Regions from separate parts of the Homo sapiens genome. Here region 2 is linked to region 1. Evidence: promoter capture Hi-C in 16 types of primary human blood cells and fetal thymus (Javierre and others, 2016). All regions are on one chromosome and are shown on one strand. The core of a region is centred on a gene start or on the middle of the fragment in contact, and the rest is flanking DNA. Distances in the headings are between cores, read along the strand shown. Region 1 holds the start of NDUFB4 (NADH:ubiquinone oxidoreductase subunit B4). Region 2 overlaps COX17 (cytochrome c oxidase copper chaperone COX17).

Region 1 (4,506 bases), core at 1,003-3,502:
AGGGCAATGACCTGATGACCCAAAAGTTGCTACCCCTTCCCTAGAAATGTCTGCATAAACTGCCTCTTTACTTTTTTGTCTGTTTGTTTGTTTGTTTGAGACGGAGTCTCGCTCTGTCGCCCAGGCTGGAGTGCAGTGGCGCGATCTCGGTTCACTGCAAGCTCCGCCTCCCTGGTTCACACCATTCTCCTGCCTCAGCCTCCCGAGTAGCTAGGACTACAGGCGCCCGCCACCACGCCCAGCTAATTTTTTTTTGTATTTTTAGTAGCGACGGGGTTTCACCGTGTAAGCCAGGATGGTCTTGATCGCCTGACCTCGTGATCCGCCCGCCTCGGCCTCCCAAAGTGCTGGGATTACAGGCGTGAGCCACCGCGCCCGGCCAAACTGCCAAATGTGGGTATAAATGTGACTCAAAGCTGGCCTGAGCTGGTGCTTTCTGCCTATGAGGTGGCCCTGCTCTACAGGAGCAGTCACGGTTGTGACACCACCAAAGCTGTAACACTGCCTCTTCAATAAAATTGTTTTCTTCTACCTCCGGGTTGCCCTTGAATTCTTTCCTGGGCAAAGCCAAGTTCCCTGGTTGCCTAAGCCCCACTTTGGGGCTCGCCTGCCCTGCATCAGTTCGTACTCGCTGGACTCATTCCTTTATCCTTTTATTCTTTTTACATGCTCTCCTTCCTAGATCAGTGTCTAATCTATACAGGTTTTGGAAACTTTATGTAGTCTTTAGAATTTTATAAACTGCTCTTGCTTTTCATATTGTATTATTTTCTTAGTATTTCAAAACACCTTTGAACAAGTCAGAATTTCCTTTTTTTTTCTCCTTTAAAATCGAGTCTGAGTAACTCGTCTTGTGTTCATTTTTTCTACATTCTCTCAGCCTGAATCCTCATGAGTCCATTTTGCTCTATATTCATCTGGACATTAGACTACTTTGAAATATTACCATTTCTGCCTATTCTTTCTGTACTGCCTGATTGTCAGCTCCCGAAAGGCAAACACCCCATCTTCCATTTTGTCTGGATTTCCCCCACTGAGCCTAGAAGATTGACTTAACACTGACTAGTGTGCTGTGTGCTTCACGCGGTGGGTGCTTAATAAATATTTTAAAACAGTATTAAAATGTTGAATAAATTTGACAGCAGTGCTGCTTCTCATCATTTCAAATGCCAACACTTTCTAGGTCCCTTTTCTAGCAACCATTTCCCAACATACCTACGCGCCCCCAGACGTTTCAGCCAAGCTGGGGCTCTCTTTTGATCCATCCTTCTTTGCCCGAGTTATGGAAATATTGTTTACATTTTTTCCCCTGAGGAGAAGGGGAACCCAAAGACCCTGCTGTGAAACTTGAAGTTGTTTTTCTCCTTGGTAACTGGGGAGAAGGAAGGACAGTAGGGACAGAGAAGGTTTTGTTTCTGATTACTTCAGTTTTCGCCCCAGATCGTCTTTTACAATAAGATACATGCCCCTATGAGTATTTTCATACCTGTAAGGATGTTTTTAATTCTTTGCATCTGAAGAGTGCTAAGGATTTTAGGCAAGAGGTTTTAGTATTTTAACTAAGATGTTTTCTCATGAGCTTTATTCAGTATCTCATTTTCTTCCTGACCTTCTATAGTCAGTCAGGCAACATTTCTCTTATAACATCATTTTTCCTATTAATCATTATTTCGTACCTGTGAAAAATAAGCTTACACTTAATGTTGTATGAATCTAGCATGGTAAAGTACAGAAAAGCTTATTCTCTTCTTCTTGGGTAGGGAATTCTGTTTTGCAAAGCACTTTGTGATCTATTTGTTAGCTTATTTAATCCTCACAACAACTTTGCTAGGTGGACAGGAGTCATTATCTCCAGGATAAGGAAAAGGAAACTCAGAGACTTTAAGTGACTTATCCAAGGTGACACAGCACGGTTAGACCCACAATGAAAACCCGGACTTCTGACTCCACAGCCAGTCCCACACAGCTCAACTTTACATAATAAGCCCTGGTTATGTCAGTAGAGACAAGGCTGCTAGGAAGAAGCAGCGCGGTGACAGATGAGTAGGTGGGGAGCGGCGGTGGGGCAGGGCGCACTGCGAGAAGAGCACTTCGCGCATGCGCATATCACCGAGCGAACGCGCCGTGTTCGGGAAGGTAGGAGAAAGAGGCGGAGCTCCTTGTTAACGACATCCCCAACCTCTGCTAACGCGCAGGCGCACTTCCTGAAGCTGAAGGTCAGCATAGACAAAGGGCCTCAGAATCGCGCAGGCGCAATTGTGCCCTGGTTCGCCAAGATGTCGTTCCCAAAGTATAAGCCGTCGAGCCTGCGCACTCTGCCTGAGACCCTCGACCCAGCCGAATACAACATATCTCCGGAAACCCGGCGGGCGCAAGCCGAGCGGTTGGCCATAAGAGCCCAGCTGAAACGAGAGTACCTGCTTCAGTACAACGATCCCAACCGCCGAGGGCTCATCGTGAGTGTGGGGCCTCCCAGGCGGGAATAGGGCCCGAGTCCTGGGAGAGACCGAGAGAGACCACGCAAAGGGTCGGCCACCGCTCCCGATCAGTATCTCAGACGCAGGTCCTCTTCCAGGCCTAGCCAACTCACTACCCTTTTACCTTTGCCAGAGCTTGGCCCTCGAGAGGACCGGCTCTGGACTCAGACCTGGCTGGGTTTGAATCCTGGCTTGATCACTTCCTGCCTGCGTGACCTTAAGAACGTTATTCACTCTGCTTATCCTCGATTTTCTGTCTGCAAAATGGGCGTAATATAGTGCTTACTCTTTTATCAGGCTGTTAGGATTAAATGAGATAGAGTATGTGACTGTCCTAGCACAGTGCCTCGTTCGTAAGGCGTGTTCAGAAAATGTTTCTATATATATGCATATATATATTATATTATATATATATTCTATATATATGCATATATATTATATTCTATATATATGCATATATATTTTATATATATGCATATATATTATATTCTATATATATGCATATATATTTTATATATATATATAATTTTAAAGAGCTGGTGTTTACCTTTCAGTTCACAGCTCATAGGGATACTGCTCTCTCCTGATGGGAATACAGTGATTCCTTCAACCTGCATCTTTTAAAGACCCTGAAGCTTGCTGAAGTTCTAGGCTTTGGAGTCAGAACCCAAAGCACTACTCATTGGCTAACTCTGTTACCTTGGGCAACTTCAACTCCTCTGAATTATAGTTTCCTGGTTTCGTATATAAATGATGTGCATTATGAGGTTAAATAAGACAGTCTGTGTAACATTCGCAGCACATAATATATGCCCAGTAAACTGGTAATTAACAGGTGTGCTTTCATTAGGTAGTTTTCTATACAGGAACTAAGTAGGTTAAATATGATGTTAACAGAACAGGACTGGACTTTTCCCACACGTTGCATTGGTGTTTTGGAATTTTTGGAAGTTATGAGGATTGAATGAAAGTTACAATGTGCCAGGCACTGTGCTAAAACTCTTTTTGAGTACTATTTACATATCACAACTATTTGGATGATTAAGCTCTACTACTGTCCCCATTTTACAGATGAGAAGACAACATGGGAAGGACAAGTAGGTCATACAGAGATACCTCTTTAGTAGGTGATAGAGCAAAATTCTAACCCTGGTTTGTGTAACCCACAGCATCTGCTTTTAACTAGTTGGTTATACTGTCTCCAGCCAGAACCTTGTTAACTTGGGAAGAGGGTGCAGAGAGACACATTTATTACAAACTCACATGATTGGGTTTGATGTGTTAGTGTGATGCATTAAAAAAGAATAAGGCCTCAGTCAGACCTGAAATTGAAACCAAGATCTTCTGTCTTCTAGCTGTATGCCTCAGGGTAGTTTCAATTTTCTCATGTGTAAATAGAGGTAATACTACCAGTCTCTTTGGTTCTGTTGATTAAATGAGTGTGTGACACTATCATTTATTAATCAATACATGTAAATTCTCTTGCCTAATTTTTTTTTTTTTTTCCCTTGAGACAGGATCTTACTCTGTCACCCAGGCTGGAGTGCAGTGGTATGATCTCGGCTCACTGCAACCTCTGCCTCCCGGGCTCAAGCTGTCCTCCCACCTCCGCCTTCCAAGTAGCTGGGACCACAGATGTGCGCTACCATGTCCGGTTAAGTTTTTGTATTTTTTATAGAGATGGAGTTTCATCATTTTGCCCAGGCTGGTCTTGAACTCCTGAGCTCAAGCGATCCTCCTGTCTCCGCCTCTCAGAGTGCTGGGATTACAGACTTGAGCCACTGTGCCTGGCCATCTTGCCTAATCTTTAAGAATGATTGATTGAATCAATAAATAATTGCTCAGGGTCTGTTATGGCCCTATTTTACATGCCAAGATAACAATGGAGATCAAAACAGGCAAAAATTCCTGTCCTTGTAGAACAAACTTTCTAGTAGGGGAGACAAGAAACAAGTTAAAAAATTAAAATCATTTAACATGTTAGTGGTAAGTGATGAGAAAAAAAATAAAGCAGGGGAGATTTGGAGTG
Region 2 (4,427 bases), core at 1,884-4,383, 920 kb before region 1:
TCACCACCATACCTATTTTTTCTTGAGTTTTCAAGTCTCTGCCTTTGCTACTACTAAATTTTCAGATACTTTATGCCTAGCATTATCCCTGCTATTCATCTTCAACTTAGGCCAGTGGTTGTTAAAGAGGAGTGCACTTGAAAATCATCTAGGAGTTTCTCAGTCAACAGGTGCAGACCAGGGCCCAAGTTGTGAATTCTGGAAAACATTCTTCAGATGATTCTGAGGTGCACCTCTGGGTAAGAACCACTGGGTGAATGTAGCCTACTTTCAGGTAAGGTATAAAAAATGTATAATAGATTTATTCCCAATCTACTGCACTTGAGGTACAATTAAGATCTACTTAGGAATAACATTAAAATCTACAAAGGTTTTTGAATTAAGGAACTTTCATGATCGTTGCCAGAGAGATCTAAGTTTGCAAAATATTTTTCCTTTGAAGCTATTCTCAGAAAAATGTGATCTAACAGTCTAAGAAATACCGATTTAGGTTAAGTTTATCTTATAGCAATGCAGACAGTTGTGTTGGATTTCACCCTCCAGCCAATGGCCTGTTTACTGGGTTATATGCAACTGTACATTTCCGCAACAAGTCTTTCTAATTAGCATTCATAATGAGGTTTTAAGATTGAAGATCAAGATTATGTGCAATCCTAAAAATGAATATGTTGGAATAAAATCTCATTAAGTACAAGGCGTGAAGTGTAAAGTGCCTGTGATTTAGAGAATATAAAAATCTTAACTCTAATCTAATTCTACCACTATCCACTCCTAACTTGAGCAAGTCTTTTTTGACTTCACTGTGCTTCCATTTCCCCATGGAGGTTGGGGAAATAGGACACCTGGGACCAATAAGGATCCAACACCCAGTCCTCTTCCCAAAATATTATTACACTGAAAATGAAAAACATGGCAGTTTGAATTCTCAGAAGGGTCCTATATGGATTCAGATTGTTCTTCTTGTAACCAGGATTCAATAATAATCAAGTCATATACTTAACAGACCTCAACTGAATGTCTGCTATCCACAACTCTAAAGGTATGAGCTATTCTGTTCTGGTTTTTACAGATGATTTATTTTACATTGAATCATCACAACTCTATGAAGTAGTTTGGGCATGTATTATTGTCTCCATTTTACGGATGAGGAAACCAAGGTACAGAAAGTTAAGGACCTGCCCAAGACCACACAATCAGTTAAGCAGTAGATTTTCTAAGTCTAAAGCTTTTGCATTTTCTTTTACACACAAATGAAGTACACAAACATAATTCTCACTCTCTGCCCTGATAACATAAAGAAAACTATGATATCATATGATACTTTTGAATATATGCCACTTATAACAATTGTACCACCTTTGTGGTTCAGATGAAGTCCAAGATAAGCTTTTGATATTCCTAAAATTAGCATTTCTTTTTATTTAATCACCCCTTTTTATCAAGGCAAGTTCAGCACAAGCCTACAGCTTACACAACTGACGAGGGAGTTAGATCATGAACAAGGAAACCATGTACAAATGTTAAGGTTGCATCTTTAAAAATAGTTAATAAAGTACACATACTTTTTAAGAACACACTCCCCTTCAAATTTACTTATTTTATAAAATAGTTCATTATGGGATTTCTTTAAATAACCATCTATTCTAAAAGCAACTTAAGTATATCATTTACACAACAGTAGATATACCATACTATATATAGAATCACAAAATGTATTATGGTTCTCTTTTTATAAATAATAAGTGAAATTCAGAGGAGTAATGTCTTGATGAAGCTAAATGTAGCTAAACTTAAAAACATGATAAACTAAACATCAGGAGAATAAAAACAAAGCCTCAGGACTTTCAGCCTAGACTGTTTTCCATTACACAGTAACTTCTTATCAGCTTGCGACAAGTTCCTTATCCCTCCTTTTTTATAGCTCAGTGAGGAAGACTGGCCATATGTGAAATTCCAAAGAGGCAGGAAAGAGGTGCAAGGGAAAGAAGCCAGGCTCTCTAGTACTAATATATTGGCATATGGCTTTGGCATTCTCTCTCAGCTGTTATTAAGTTAAAAGTGGTAGTGTGGTGTGGAAGTTAGGGTAGGGGCAAAAAGCAGAGGGAATCGGCATGGAGACTGAGGCTCCAGTTCTGATACTGCACAACCCACCTTGGGGGCCATTTCATAACTATAAGCTTTAATTTCCTTATTTATTCATTCATTTAACAATCCTCCATTAAGCACCTACTATGAGCCAGGCACTGTTATAGGTAGTGGGGATATGACAGTAAATGAAATAGAAAATTCCTACTTTCTCAGAGCTTACATTCTAGCTGCCGTGAAGCAACACAGGTAATTAAAAATATATGTATCATGCAGGTGACAGTGTATAGAATAGAGTAGCCACTAGCCACATGTAGCTATTAAAATTTTTACAAACTAAAAATTCAGTACCTCACTCTCACCAGCCACAATTCAAGTGCTCAACAGCCACATATGGCTAGTGGCTACCAGACTGGCAAGTGCAGATACAGAGCATTTCCATCTTCACAGAAAGGTCTTAGGACAGCACCATGATAGAGTGATGGGGAAGGGATGTAATTTACATGGGGTGTTGAGGGAAAGCCTCTCTAATAAGGAGACTTTTGAAAGAGACCTGAGTAAAGAGGGAGTGGGGTGAGGGGGTGAGCTAAGTTGATAACTGAAGAAAGAGCTTCCAAACAAAAGAGTATCATTTGTTTGTGGAATTGTTGGACACATACCACTTAAGGTCCCTTTCAGCACTTAAAATGGGTTAAGAGTTCCAAGTTCTTTTAAAAATGGCCTGAGGCCCACCGCCCTGTCTGGGATGTCAGGAGTGCCACTGCCCGGCTGCCCACTGTCTGGGAAGTGAGGAGTACCTCTGTCCGGCCACCCCGTCTGGGAAGTGAGGTGCCTCTCCGCCTGGCCACCACCCCATCTGGGAAGTGAGGTGCCCCTCTGCCCGGCTGCTGCCCCGTCTGGGAAGTGAGGAGCGCCTCTGCCCAGCTGCTGCCCCGTCTGGGATGTGAGGAGCGCCTCTGCCCAGCTGCCGCCCTGTCTGGGATGTGAGGAGCGCCTCTGCCTGGCCGCCCCACCGTCTGGGAAGTGTGGAGCGTCTCTGCCCAGCTGCCCACTGTCTGGGAAGTGAGGAGTGCCTCGGCCCGGCTTCTGCCCTGTCTGGGAAGTGAAGAGCACCACTGCCCGGCTGCCCCACGTCTGGGAAGTGAGGAGCACCTCTGCCCGGCCGCTGTGCAACCTTCCAAGTGTGAAGTGACAGCCTTGTGTGTGATCTTTTCTGTCTTCCCCAAGTTTGCATTTTTGACATTAAAGTTTACTTTTTAATTAAAAAAAAAATGGCCTGAGGCTTTAGTTTTATTCGAATAAAGCATGCTACAATTCCATTTTCATTTTTCAGAAAGCAATACTTCCGTGGGATACCCACTCCCTACTTAAAAGCATTTCTTGGCCAGGCATAGTGGCTCACACCTCTTAATCCCAGCACTTTGGGAGACCAAGGCAGGAGGATTGCCTGAGTCCAAGAGGTTGAGACCAGCCTGGGCAAGATGGTGAAACCCCATCTCTAAAAAACAACACAAAAAATTAGCCAGGCACGGTGGCCCACACCTGTAGTCCCAGTTACTTAGGAGGCTGAGGGGAGGATCACCTGAACCTCCCAGGTTGAGGCTGCAATGAGCTGTGATTGGGCCACTTCACCCCAGCCTGGGTAACAGAGTGAGACCCTGTCTCAAAAAAAAAAAAAAAAAAGCATTTACTGAAGTCCCACAATATTTATTAGAAACAAGAAAGAGAATATGTTTCTTTTAGTTCCCTCAGTCAATTTTCCTAAAGCCATGGGACCTAAAGGCTTTTGTCAAACCCTTTCTTAAAAGCTCAATTCTCCCCTTCCCCAATCCGCTAAATGACTGTCTTTACTGACATAATTTACTCCCTTCATTGGGAACTGAAAAATCATGGTTTTTTCAAATTGATACTTAAGCATTTTAGATTAACCAGGTGAACTACCTTTCAGAGAGAATGTAGCCCAATTGTTGCTAAATCTGTAAAGCAATACACAACTTTGAAGCAAGAAGCTTACCATTTCATATTTTAAATCCTAGGGCTCTCATGCATTCCTTGTGGGCCTCAATTAGATGTCCACAGTGTTCTTCTCCTTTCTCGATGATACTATAAAACAAAATGTACTTGTTATCTAAATATGCATTAAGCACATTATTAAGTATGCATGATAGTGATGGGGAGTGAGACAAAACACGGGTATAATGGAATGTAGCTGGAATTAAAACAAACGCTATTACCTCAAACAGCTTTGTTTTTATTTGATCTTATGATATGCCCATGCCTATGAAGACATTCCACAGATAAGTGATTTTGGGGGGGAAATCTGATAAGAAATAATCACGCAT

Evidence for each region. The method cuts DNA at HindIII sites, captures the fragments that hold promoters and counts their contacts. A CHiCAGO score of 5 or more calls a contact.
Region 2: a fragment that was not itself captured here is called in contact with the fragment with the promoter of NDUFB4 in region 1 in 2 of 17 cell types (total CD8 T cells and fetal thymus); the score reaches 6.6 in total CD8 T cells.

Annotation. Positions count from the first base shown.
Region 1 is chr3:120,594,084-120,598,589 of GRCh38, forward strand. It overlaps NDUFB4 (NADH:ubiquinone oxidoreductase subunit B4), which reads left to right and starts at 2,253. Exons shown (of 3, transcript NM_004547.6): 1 at 2,253-2,456. The coding sequence starts at 2,277. RefSeq lists enhancers at 2,324-2,663, 3,704-3,773. The HindIII fragment of the contact is 1,375 bases long and covers 1,736-3,110 here.
Region 2 is chr3:119,671,046-119,675,472 of GRCh38, forward strand. It overlaps COX17 (cytochrome c oxidase copper chaperone COX17), which reads right to left. Exons shown (of 3, transcript NM_005694.2): 2 at 4,100-4,188. The coding sequence ends at 4,104. Among named protein-coding and RNA genes, the nearest start is that of COX17, 4.1 kb to the right of the region's middle. The HindIII fragment of the contact is 1,917 bases long and covers 2,176-4,092 here.